Regions from separate parts of the Homo sapiens genome. Here regions 2, 3 and 4 are each linked to region 1. The links are contacts of gene promoters, found by promoter capture Hi-C in blood cells and fetal thymus (Javierre and others, 2016). All regions are on one chromosome and are shown on one strand. The core of a region is centred on a gene start or on the middle of the fragment in contact, and the rest is flanking DNA. Distances in the headings are between cores, read along the strand shown.

Region 1 (3,254 bases), core at 755-3,254:
AGAGACTACGCAGAGATCAATCCTGTTATCTTGTGGCTGTGGAGATGCTTCTTCCTAATCCAGACTTTTTCTGTATTTAAGATAAGAGAACTTGAAAAACCCAGTAATAGTAGTATCCTTAAAATGGCAATAACAAAAAAAAGTTGAAAATATTTCACAAATATTTATTATAAATAGGAACAATTAAACAACATCTTAGATGAGTAATAAAAATGTAGCTCCTTCAAAGATATGACACCTGCATACTTTTCCAAAAGGGTAGATGATGTGAAAACTGGGCAGAATGCTATTCCATTTCCGATTTCAAGACCCTGTAGGACTGTGAGAGGAGGAAGAGCACAGGGCATCGTCGCATCCAGGATCTACAGAGGCACTATTTGCACTTTCTCCACCGTTTCCAGTATGGAAAATCCGATTCCTTCCTTTTCATACCTTGATGGTCTCTATTGACCTTCAGTCACTGATTTGCTTCTCTTTGTGAGGGTATTTCAGTCCCAGGAGGAAGTTTTAATTCCTGTTTTTTACTCTCTTCTGATTGGGGGGGAACACAGGATTAATATTCATGGAAAACATTAAGGAATCCAGAGAAGTTTTATTTTTACATTAATATACAGAATATCCACAGAGAATATAAAAGGCTACAGCAAAATCAAGTGATTCACTGGGACATAATATGTCTCTCTTTTCAATTATTTAAAGTCCCACAGAAACTTGACTGACATTTTCTATGCATTTTTGAAGAGAAATGGAAAGAGATGTGGGGTGGGGGGCTGTAACATAGTAGCTATTTCGGGAGAGATTAGCTTGTTGTGTAATCCAGTCACAGAAAGATAATCGCAGACACCAGAGCTAAATTTCTTTGACTGAATTCATGTAAATCAGTATTTTTTTTTTACTTCTACACATGAATAAGAAGTAATTTCATTCACTGTGGTTGCTGTGTGGTGTAAATACACATATTCACTAATGTTAAGAAAAATTGTGCCTATTATGTATAGTAGTGATGCACATAATTTACACACACTCATTGATTGAAATGTTTCCCTGTGGATCAGGTGCGTTCATAATCAGATGAAGGAAAAGCAAAGGAGGCATTTGTTTATTTTCCATTTCGTGAATCATAAAATCAGAGGTTTGGGCTGACTACCTTTAGGTTCCCTTACGGTGTTTTTTGGGAACCGCTTTGGAGTCAGCTATCTGCTAAGTTTGGAATTGCCACCACGAAAGTAAACACCGTAGTGAGGAGCGGGTTGAGGAAAAGAATAAATAGTTGGTGGAAGGAACCACCGTACTTGAGGGAGGGGACAGTGGGAACGGCCCCTGTCACAATCATTTATCCAAAGCATCAACATTCTCAGAGCAAAGAACTTGTGTTTCTAACTCCAGAGGTGCCTGGATTCACAGCCAAAAATGCTTCTTCCTCGCTCTCCACAGCCCCTCCCATGCCAGACGCCGGCTCGGCACCCCCTCTTCGCTGTGCATTTCTGCTTCCCCCGAAAGCCCGAGTAGTAAAGGGAGGCTCCTTGCGGCCCCCGCGGGCTCCCAGGGACCCGCAAGTTGAAGCGCGAGGGTTCCACGCGGGCTGCGGGGACGCGGGCCTCGGTGCTGCAGACTTTCTCAGGGCGCCTGGGTCGCGGCAGGCGCGGAGTCCCGAGCGCAGCAGCTGCTCCGCCGGCCTCGCCTCCGACCCCCGCCCTGCGCCAAGCGCGGAAGCGCTCGCGACCTAACTGCCCCGGGTGCCGGGCGCCTAGGGAGGGGCCGCCACCGCCCGCTCCGCCCCGGGGGCCTGCGCCCAGCAGCCCCCGCCTCCCCGGAATCCAGAGGCCGAGCCGGAGGCGGCGGGGCCACGGTGGGAGCCCGCGAGGTGGCCCGAGCGAGGGCCCCGCATCCCCGCAGAGCCCGCCCGAGGGCGCAGCCTGCCACGCCAGGGGAGGCGGCCGGGCGGCGGGGAACGGCGGGGGCGGAGCGCAGCCTCCCGACGCCGCCGCCTCACCGCCCCCCTCCGCCTCCTCGGCCTCCGCTCGCAGCCGCCGCCTCCGCCTCCGCCGGGCTGAGGAGCCGGGAGTCCGCCGCGCCGGCTCGGGGCTGCGGGATGGGGAGTTAGCGCCACGGCGGCGGCAGTGGCCGCAGCGCACCCCGCCGCCGCCCAGGAGCCCGTCCAGCCAGGGGTGCCGGGCCCGCCCAGCCCGCCCCGGAGCCAGGCCCGCGGGCGGCGGCGGAGCTGGGCAGGTGGATGCGGCTGGAAGATGGCGCCCTCGGGCCCGGGCAGCAGCGCCAGGCGGCGGTGCCGGCGGGTGCTGTACTGGATCCCGGTGGTGTTCATCACCCTCCTGCTCGGCTGGTCCTACTACGCCTACGCCATCCAGCTGTGCATAGGTGAGTGCGCCCCCCGCCGCGGCGCCCCCAGCGCAGCGCAGCCCACCCCGACTGTCCCGGGACGCTCAGCCGCTCCTCCGCTCTCGCCCCCCGGATGCGCCCCGGGCGCTGCCAACCTGCCGCGTCCCGCCGGCTCCGCCGCTAAAAGCAGCCTCGGGGCAGCTTCTTCCACGCGCACGCCCCTCGCCCTCCCCTCCCAACTCTCGGGTTAAGGTGGCGCCTCCGCCCCGCACTCGCCGCCGAGCCTCCCGCCGCCTTCCGCTCACCGCCGCCGCCTCGGCCACACCCCCTAGAGGGGCGGAAGGTCCCCGGGACCGCTGTGGAGAGGGGAGGCCGAGGCCGGCGAGGCGCGCCGGGGGCTGAAGGGCTGAGCTGGGCCCGGCCCCGAGCTGCGCCAGACCCGCGCGGGGGTGCTGGCCTTGGCGGCGGAGCTGGATCCCTTGCTGGTTGGCGTCAATGCACTTGTTAAAAATTTGTGACAGCGCTCAGGGGCGTTTTTGCTGCCTTTATGATTTGAGGATTGCCAGTTGGACACTTTTCTAGTTTAAAAGGATGTGGAGGAGGTGAGCTACTAGAAAGTATTTTTGAGGACATGTGCAACACACTAAACCATAATTTAGGTGTTTGAACAGTAGGGAGAGAAAAAAAGAGGTGATCGTCTGAGGTTTTTACATCCAGAGAGCGAAGTGGCTCCAGTCCGAGTTCGAGGTTCCTGAATTGGTGGGTAGGATACTTTTAATGCTGAAGATTAAAATTTTTTAAAAAGTTGATTATTATGCACAAGTAGGGAGTACAATGATGTCGCTTAATGTAAGCTGGTTTCTACCTTCAGGGGTTTTATGAAAACTGATCTGGGTTATCAGAAAAAGATGTTAAAA
Region 2 (3,254 bases), core at 388-2,887, 1.8 Mb before region 1:
CTCTTACTGAGTCGCTGTTGTCAAAATGTCCATTCACAGTGACTTCTGGACCATGCCTTCTAGAATGCTTGCCTTCTAGTCCCCTACACTGTACTTCTCATGCCTCTTCTCTTCTTGTTTTGCGCAAAAGCCTAGCTATACACTGGGTGATTTCCTTCTTCTTCAGCATTTCCCAGAGGTTGTTTAGCCTCTTCCTAGAAAATTGCAGTGGCAAGGATCTAACCATCTTGTAAACTAGCCTAATTGTCTTCCAAAAGCTCTATTAGAAATTGCCTCCTTACAGCATTCCAAAATTTGTTTTTTTCTAAGTTAGCCCATTACTACTTTGATGTATCTGGGACAATATAAAATGTTTATGCCTTCTTCCTCATGACAACTCTTAAAAACTTGAGAATAGAAACCATAGCTTCCCCTCAATCTAAACACACCTACGTTTCCTTGTGTGCTATTTTGGTTCTCGGTTCTCCCACCTCTCCCTGTGCTTTCTTTTAACACAGGTCATTGTGGCTGTGGTCCTTTTAAAACAGCGTTGCCTTGAAGCAAGCACAGGACTCAGTTGTAGGACCCAGTGTAGAGTGAAGATGGACTATTTCTGTGTGTAAGAATTGTGTACCACATTAATCCACACATTGTGGGGCTTACTACTTGTATATTTACCCTCTGCCATATCCGTTTTCTGAATGTAAGCATCTTCAGCCTCACTGTATGTCCTTCACAGATACAAATATATCTAGGAATGTTTCAGTCCACATAGTCACATCGAATATGGTAAACTCTGGCCACCTGGCTGAGACATCACCTCCCAACCTTCTAGCAGTAGTTTGAGAAGCTAGAATATCAATTAGTATAAATTTTAAAACTTGTGGCATATTTCAACACATCAGGATGCAAAACACCATCTGCAAGTAAGAAAAACTGGCATTGGCCCCCCTGGCTGGATACTTTTACAGAGGCTTTGAGCCTGTAAGAATGTTTACTTCTACCCAATACAACCAACCCACTGAAGAGACACTGAAATAACTCTATTTCTCCCAACTGCAGTATCACAGACAAGCCCACTCAGCCAGTCAGTCTTTCTCTCAGAATAAATATAATTTACTCTAATAGGTTCCATGTTATCAAGCCTTTTAGCCACGATTTAATTGAACTGAACCGTTTCATTTTACCTACAAGGAACAGCAAGTGTTCTGCCAATTGCATGATAATAGAGTTTCAATTGGAGTTTACCACAGCCAATCAAAAGTCTAATACTTCAGCTGAGATGCAAACACTTCCTTCTTTGAAAAATATGGCCAGTTATGAGTAGCATGCATTTCATACTACTCCCAAAAGCGAAAAATACTAATTTGTTTAAATATTTGAAAAAAAAAAAAGAATTGTTTCATTTTAATAAACTTTTTATTTGAAAACTGTTTTAGATCTACATAAAAATTGAGGAGATAACACAGAGGGTTCCCATAAACCCAATACGCAGACTCTCTCGTTATTAACACTACATTAGTGTGGTACATTTGTCAAAAGCAATAAATCAATATTGATACATTATCATTAACTAAGGTCCAGTCTTTATTCAGATTTCATTAGTCTTTTTTCCTAATGTCCTTTATCTGTTCCAGGAACTCTTTTGGAGTAATGCAATCCATTCAGTCACAATCTGTTCTCAGGCTCCTCTTAGCTGTGATAGTTTCTCAGGCTTTTCATATTTTTTATAATCTTGACAGTTTTGGTTAGTACTGGTCAGGTATTTTGTAGATTATCTATTAATTAAGATTTATCTGATCTTTTTCTCATAAATAGGGCTCATGAGTTTGGAGGAGGAAGATTACAGAGAGAAAGTATATTCTCATCACAACATATCAAAGGTATACTAACCAAAAACATGACTTAACACTGTTGATATGACTTGGTCACCTGGCTGAGGGAGTGTTAATATGCAGCGCTTAATGAGTGGGCAGTCATGTTCCACCTTCTTGAGAGTGGAGTATCTACATAAATTATTTGTAATTCTTCTGCATGGGATATTTGTCTCTTCTCCCCCATTTATTTGATTATTTGTATCCATTTAGATCCTGGACATTTATTTTAATTCTATGTTAAAATCCAATACAACTTTGTTTTTGTTGTTTTTGTTCAAATTATTTTAGCTTTGGCGTTTGGAAGCTGTTTCAGTTGACTCCTATGCCTCTTAGACTTACTTCCGTCATTTTGTGTATATATGTGTGTGTGTGTGTGTGTGTGTGTGTGTGTGTGTGTGTATGTGTGCTTTTGAGTACTGCCTTAATTTCTGGCACTACAAAATACTCCAGGCTCATCTTGTATATTTCCTGCTTCCATCCTGGAATCAGCCATTGCTCCAAGGCACCCTTGTTCCTTTTATTGAATAAATCTGGTAGAGACCAAGATCATTGTGTTAGATGCGCTGATTGCTACTGTGGGGTCATTGCTTCAAGCCCCTTGAGCCATGTCTATTCATCTATACAAGCATCTATATAGATAGATACTATGTTAAGTAATACAACTTTAATTAATGAAATGTAACTTATTAGGTCAACCCATATGAAATTGCTATTTTGTCACAAGCAAAAATTGCTATGGTGTCAAAAGCACTAAAATATCAATAATTATTCATGGCTCAACCTAATACTTACAAAAAAGTACATAAACAGATATCCATGCCACATCCAGTAAACAAGAGAAAAGAACCAGTACCAGCACACACGCATCTACCATACACTCCTTCCTCCTAGAGATACTCTCCAATTCTGTAATGATTGCTTTTTTACTCACCTTATATATAGTATAAACTTTAACACTGAAGTGTGCATTACAAAAATATTTAGCTTTTCCTGTTTTTCTTTTAAGTAAATAGAATCATAATGCATGTAGCATTTTGTGTCTTATATTTGTCTTGTGTTACGTATAGCTTTCATTCATTTTCATTTTCACTGTGTATAATAATTTAAAATATCAATGTGCAACAATTTATCCATTTCACTGTTGATTGATACTTGGTGATATTATTTTGAATAGAGAAAGAAGGAGCAGCATAATTACATTTTGACTGATCTTTGGGTTTCTTGGTATCATGAAATTTCACATTCATTGCTATTTTAAAAGAACCCAGATTAGGACTACGTCTGATTTAAACAGTATCCTAAAACACATAATCACCAAGAAACCTTGCAATTATAATTTGTCCTCTGAAGTAATTCTGCCCAGAGGGAGAAAATTATATGATCCAGCACAAAGATTCC
Region 3 (3,254 bases), core at 361-2,860, 1.0 Mb before region 1:
GGGGCTGTCACTGTTATTATTTTTTTTGTGCCTCTGAACTATTCTTTCTATTCGGTGGAAAGCTATACAAAAATTACGTGTGTTTCTTAGATATGTTTTTAATCTCTAATCCTCTTCCTCTCTTTCTCTCTCTCTCATCTTTCCACCTATATACCTAGCCATATATATATCTATGATTTCCTTTATAATTTGAGGGTTGTAGGGATTGATATTGATTATATATTTTTTTTAAGTTTTTTTTTTTTTTTTTTTTTGAGACAGAGACTCACTCCCTCTATCGCCCAGGCTGGAGTGCAATGGCGTGATCTCGGCTCACTGCACTTCCGCTTCCTGGGTTCAAATGATTCTCCTGCCTCAGCCTCCTGAGTAGGTGGGATTACAGGTGTGCACCACCACGCCCAGTTAATTTTTGTATTTTTAGTAGAGACGGGGTTTCACCATGTTGGCCAGAATGGTCTCGATCTCTTCACCTTGTGATCCACCCACCTCAGCCTCCCAAAGTGCTGCGATTACAGGGGTGAGCCACTGTGCCTGACCTCCTCTTCACCTCTTTTTAAAAAATGAAAGATACTGATATTTCTTTGGGGGATTTGGGTATCTTTAATCTTACCAGCATTTCCATGAAAAATAAAAGGTAATCAGTTTCATACATCATCCAGATATATTATAAAATGATGAGATTTGAGATCAGCTGCTGAATAGATAAATGGGAGAGCAAATATCATTAATAGTTAAAAGTGCCTGAATGTGTATTTTCATTATTTCTAGTCATGACTGAGTGACATAAATTTGTATGACTTTTAAGCCTAGTTGGGAAGTGTTTTGTGAACAGTGTCTCCATTGAGAAAAACAATGTAAATTAAAGTTGAAAACACCTTGGGAATCAAAGTAGAGAAGAATGGGTCAATATAGCCTATAGTTTGGATTGTAGTTTTGTGCTTATAGAGAAACCACTCATTTTTCCTCAATTTTATGATATGCAGAATAAAGGAGTAAGGCTAACATAGCTTTAAGACTTTGTCTACCTTTAATATTTCATGATACTAAGATTCTGAAGAAGCAAGCTCTTTAGAAATGAAGATCTTAAGTATAAAGGACTTGGAAGGATGTTCCATCTGGTGGAGAAAGCATGGTATGAGAGAAAGGTTAAGGCATGAATCTTGACCCTTCTTCCCACTCCCACCCACCCCCAACCACCCCCAACCACCATAATGACTACGTAAATTTGTACAACTTTGATGACCTCTGCTAGCCCTACTTATTTTCTCTATGAAAAAAATATGCTATTTTTCTGTGATTACCCAGCTGTATGGACCAGCCCTATACTACTTTCCATAATATTTAACATTCAAATGTTTACATTTTAAAACATTCAACATGCAAGGAGCAGTATGTAAAAATTTGACTTGTGACCCTTTGATATATTTATTTATCTTTGAGATTATATTTACTCCCATTCATTAAGGGATAGTTCAGAGGTATAGAGGTGCATTTTTTGATTGCCTTCTGTTTACCCTTACATTTTTTTTTTGAAAATTTCACATAGAAAATTGATTATGGTATGTAAAAGTGGTAATAAAAAAGCAAAGAAAAGACAGCTAAGAATAACTTTTAAATGGCATTTATGTTTATATATTACTTTTGTTTCTCTTTTCAGGTTTGGAGTTTCAGCACTATAAACTCAGGAGAAGAAGCAATAGTTACTCCAGATCTTACTTCCCTCATCAGCATCCATACAGGCTCAGATATACCTGGAACAAATTCTTGGAGGTACCACTGTTGTATGATAAAACTCATCCAAGTTTGCTGCAGGGAGACCACAGGCACAATAGCTGGGAAAGCCTGGATACGGGGCAAAAAGTGACTCACTCTCCTTTCCCTGCCCTGTGCATTGATAAACAGTAGATGCCCCTCAGTGCTTCCTTAATTAAACTTGTTTTGTCTAGTCAGAAAAAAAGGTGCATCCAAATGAGAGAACCTATTTAAAGGAGCATGCTTGAAACTTTATTCCTATAAGTCATTTTACCTGCAGCTGCAAAACTAATTGTTCTTAAAACTAAGGATTCTATCTGCTAAGCCAGGTTTGCTATTTAAAACCAGAAAAAAATATGTGGAGACTGTCCAAAAATTATATTCTTTCTATAATGGTGCATTATAAAAAGAGGGTTCATTTAAATTGTTTTCTGGCTGGGCACAGTGGCTCATGCCTGTAATCCCAGCACTTTGGGAGGCTGAGGTGGGTGGATCTCGTGCGGTCAGGAGTTCGAGACCAGCCTGACCACCATGGAGAAACCCCGTCTCTACTAAATATACAAAAAATTAGTTGGGTGTGGTGGTGCATGCCTGTAATCCCAGCTACTTGGGAGGCTGAGGTAGGAGAATCGCTTGAACCTGGGAGGCAGAGGTTGCGGTGAGCCGAGATTGTGCCACTGCACTCCAGCCTGGGCAACAAGAGCGAAACTCCATCTCGAAAAAAAAATTGTTTTCTTTTTGTTTCAATTTTGGTAATGATGTACAATATGATATGAACCTGATTCTTCTCACTTTCCTAAGAGAAGGATAAATAATTAAAACAATGCATGTTTCTCTTTTAGTTCTTTACTCATCCACTCATTTTTCTAAGTTTCTTTTCTTGTCTCTACTCTGTATTTAAAATTGCTTTTTCTTTTCCTCTTGAGTGAAACTGTGAATTTAAGGTGGAGGAGTGAAAAAATCAGGAATGTTTTAAATAGCTTTCCATAAAAACCTCGTTTGCCATGTCTAATCCCCAATCAGTGAATAATGTAAGCCTGTCTCTTAAAATACAATATCCAGTGAAGTAGATCATAAAACTTACTTTTCAAATCATTTTCTTCAGAACAAATAATGTTGGTTCTATTTTTTTCTCTCAGCTCATTTTGCTTTATTATTTTAAAATTCTCATAATTATTCTTTAGTTGTTTGGTACTGAACTCTACGCAGGGAGTGGAAACAACAGCTAAGTCAAACCAGGTGCAGTGGTTCACACTTGTCATTCCAGTACTTTGGGAGGCTGAGGCAGGAGGATTGCTTGAGGCTAGGAGTTTTAGATGAGCCTGAGCAACTTAGCAAGAACCTGTCTCTATAAGAAATTAAGATTTAAAAAAAAATTAGCCAGGTATGTGGTGCAGGCCTGTGGTCCCGAGAAACTCTGCAGGCTAAGGTGGGAGGATCGCTTGAGAGCAGGAGTTTGAGGCTGCATTAACCTGTGATTGTACCATTGTATTCCAGCCTAG
Region 4 (3,254 bases), core at 515-3,014, 1.0 Mb before region 1:
GATGCCCAATGATTTCCCATTGAAACTCTCCCAAAAATTGTCCTAGTTTGATGAGAGAAATGAGCAAGAGCATTGTCATGATGGAGACTCCCTGGAGAAGCTTTCCTGGGAGTTTACTGTTAAAACTTTGGATAACTTTCTCAAAATACTCTCATAGTAAGCCTAGGTTACCATTCTTTGGCCCTCCAGGAAGTCAACAAGAAAAATCACTTGAGCATCCTCAAAAACTGTTGTGAGAACCTTTGTTCTTGACTGGTCTGCTTTTGCTTTGACTGTAACACTTCTACCTCTTGGTAGCCATTGCTTTGATTATGCATTGTCTTCAGGATTATACTGGGAAATCCATGTTTTATCTTCTCCTATAATTCTTCAAATAAATGCCTCAGGATATTGACCCCACTTATTTAAGATTTCCACTGAAAGCTCTGCTGTTGTCTGCAGCTGATCTGGACACAATAGTTTTGGCACCCATCTAGAAAAAACTTTACTCAACCTTAATTTCTAAGTCACAGTTGTGCAAGCCAAACCAGTTGAGATGTCTGTGGTGTTGGCTGTTGTTCTGCTGTCTCAGTTCTTTTCAATTAAGGCACAAACAAGATGTATTTTTTTCCTCACAAATTGACGTGGATAGTCAGCTGCTGCAGGGTTCATCTTCAATATTTTCTTATCCCTTTGTAAAACTGAGTTCTCTTTTTGTCAACTGCTGATTCCTTTGGGACATTGTGCCTATAAACTTTTCATAAAGTATCGGTGATTTCACCATTCTTCCAAACAAGTTTCATCATAAATTTCATGTGTGTTCTTGGTTCCATTTTAGCAATATTTATGTGGCTCTGATAGGGGCTCTTTTTAAATAGATACCTTATTGTTCTTAGTGCATCAAATTAGATTCTATTCAGACATGTTATAATAAGCTAGCTTGTTTTAGTGCAGAATTTTTGAAATCCATGTATAGTGTTTTCCTAATACATATTTTCCATGATTTTTTGAAGACCCCTTGCATTTGTTATGGCAATCAGTGACCTTTGAGATTACTACTGTGATTAGTTTGGGGAACCACAAACCATGCCCGTAAAAGATGGCAAACTTAGTTGATATATGTTGTGTGTATTCTGACTGCTCCACCAACTGGCTGTTCCCCCTTCTGTCTCTCTTCCTCTCCTCAGGCATCCCTATTCCCTGAGACACAGCAATATTGAAATTAAACAAATTAGTAACCTTAACAACGGCCTCTAAGTGTTCCATTGAAAGGAAGAGTGGCACATCTCTCATTTAAATCAAAAGCTACACATGATAAACCTTAGTGAGAAAGGCGGGTTGAAAGTCAAGACAGGCTGAAAGTATGAAATTTACCTAAGTTGTAAATGTGAGAAAAAGTTCTTGAAAGCAATTAAAAGTGCCACTCCAGTGAACACAAAAATAATAAGAAAACAAACCACCTTATTGCCGATATAAAGTTTTAGTTAGTGGCCTTCATATATGATCAAAATAACCATGACACTCACTTAAGACAAATCCAAGTCCAGAGCAAGGCTCTACCTCTCTTCAATTCTATGGAGGCTGAGAAAGGTGAGGAAACTGCAGGAGAAAAGTTGGAAGCTAGCAGAGGTTGGTTCATAAGGTTTAAGGAAAGAAGCCATCTCCATAACATAAAAGTACAAGATGATTTAGCAAGTGTGGATATAGAAGCTTCAGAAAATTGTCCAGAAGATCTAGTTAGGATAATTGATGAAGGTTACTACACTACACAACAGATTTTCAATGTAGATGAAACAGCTTCTGTTGAAAAAGATGCCATCTATAACTTTCATACTTAGAGAGGAGTTCATGCTTGACTTCAAAGCTTTGAAGTATAGGCTAATTCCCTTGTTAGGGGCTAATGCAGCCAGTGACTTTAAGTTGAAGGAAATGCTCATTTGCTATTCTGAAAATTCTAGGGCCCTTATGAGTTATGCTAAATGTCCTCTCCCTGTGCTCTAGAAATAGGACAATGAGGCCTGGGTGACAGCACGTCTGTTGACAGCATGGTTTACTGAATATTTTAATCTTACTGTTGAGACTTATTGCTGAGAAAAAAAATCCTTTTAAAATATTACTGCTCATTGAGAGTGCACCTGGTCACCCAAGAGCTCTGATGGAGATGGACAGAAAGACTGGTGTTGTTTTCATGCCTGCTAACACAATATCCATTGTGTAGCCCATGGATCCAGGATTAATTTTTACTTTCAAGTCTTATTACTTAAGAAATACATCTTGTAAGGCTGTAACTGACACAGAGAGTGATTCCTCTGATGTGTCTGAGCAAAGTAAATTGAAAACTTTTTGGAAAGGTTTCACAATCCTATATGGCATTAAAATAATTTATAATTCATGGGAGAAGGTCAAAGTATTGAGGTTAACTGAAATTTGGAAGAAGTTGATTCCAACCCTCATGAATGACTGTGAGGGGTTCAAGACTTTAATGGAGAAAGTCACTACAGATGTGGTATAAATAATAAGAGAAGTGGAGAACTAGAATTAGAAGTGGAGCCTGAGGATGTGGCTGAATTGCTGCAATCGATAAAACTTGAATGGATTAGGGGTTGCTTCTTATGGATGAGCAAAGAAAGGGTTTTTTTGAGATACAACCTACTCCTGAAGGGAAGATGCTGTGAACATTGTTGAGACGACAACAAAGGATTTAGAGTATCATATAGATTTAGTTGACAAAGCAGCAGCAGAGTATGAGAAGACTGATTTTAATTTTGAAAGAAGTTCTAAAGTGGGTCAATGCTATCAAATAGCATCCATTGCATGCAGCAGAGAAATCTCTCATGAGGAGAAGACTCCATCAACGTGGCATATTTCATTGTTGTCTTAAGAAATTGCCACAGCCACCTCAATCTTCAGCAACCATCACGCTGATTAGTAAGCAGCCATCAACACGGAGGCAAGACCCTCCACCAGAAAAAGATAACAACTTCCGGAAGGTTCAAATGATTGTTAGCATTTTTTAGCAATAAAGTATTTTAAAAATTAAAGAACACTTAATAGACTCCAGTGTAGTGTAAATATAACTATTATATGCACTGGGAAACCAAAAAATTTGTCTGGCATGTTTCATTGTGATAATTGCTTTTTTTTTGCCTTGGTCTGGAACTGAAACCACAATATGTCCACAGTATGCCTGTATTAGCTATACACTCTATTAAGGAACACATCTATTGTGTTAATGGAATGCTGCATTTTTTTTGAGAAGGAGTATTGCTCTGTCT

What was found. Contacts are between HindIII fragments. The CHiCAGO score rates a contact against its expected background, and 5 or more counts as called.
Region 2: a contact is called between a fragment that was not itself captured here and the fragment with the promoter of ZDHHC2 in region 1, in 5 of 17 cell types (total B cells, naive B cells, total CD4 T cells and 2 more). The highest score is 10.3, in total B cells.
Region 3: a contact is called between a fragment that was not itself captured here and the fragment with the promoter of ZDHHC2 in region 1, in 2 of 17 cell types (M0 macrophages and M1 macrophages). The highest score is 6.3, in M0 macrophages.
Region 4: a contact is called between a fragment that was not itself captured here and the fragment with the promoter of ZDHHC2 in region 1, in 1 of 17 cell types (M0 macrophages). The highest score is 5.7, in M0 macrophages.

What each region holds. Positions count from the first base shown.
Region 1 is chr8:17,154,478-17,157,731 of GRCh38, forward strand. ZDHHC2 (zDHHC palmitoyltransferase 2) reads left to right here and starts at 2,005. Exons shown (of 13, transcript NM_016353.5): 1 at 2,005-2,376. The coding sequence starts at 2,247. RefSeq lists a silencer at 1,464-2,823. The HindIII fragment of the contact is 4,757 bases long and covers 1-3,254 here.
Region 2 is chr8:15,374,080-15,377,333 of GRCh38, forward strand. No RefSeq gene overlaps it. Among named protein-coding and RNA genes, the nearest start is that of SGCZ, 140 kb to the left of the region's middle. The HindIII fragment of the contact is 7,465 bases long and covers 1-3,254 here.
Region 3 is chr8:16,112,711-16,115,964 of GRCh38, forward strand. The region is part of intron 9 of MSR1 (macrophage scavenger receptor 1); the gene reads right to left. Among named protein-coding and RNA genes, the nearest start is that of MSR1, 78 kb to the right of the region's middle. The HindIII fragment of the contact is 3,802 bases long and covers 1-3,254 here.
Region 4 is chr8:16,133,390-16,136,643 of GRCh38, forward strand. All of the region lies in intron 8 of MSR1 (macrophage scavenger receptor 1), which reads right to left. Among named protein-coding and RNA genes, the nearest start is that of MSR1, 58 kb to the right of the region's middle. The HindIII fragment of the contact is 154 bases long and covers 1,688-1,841 here.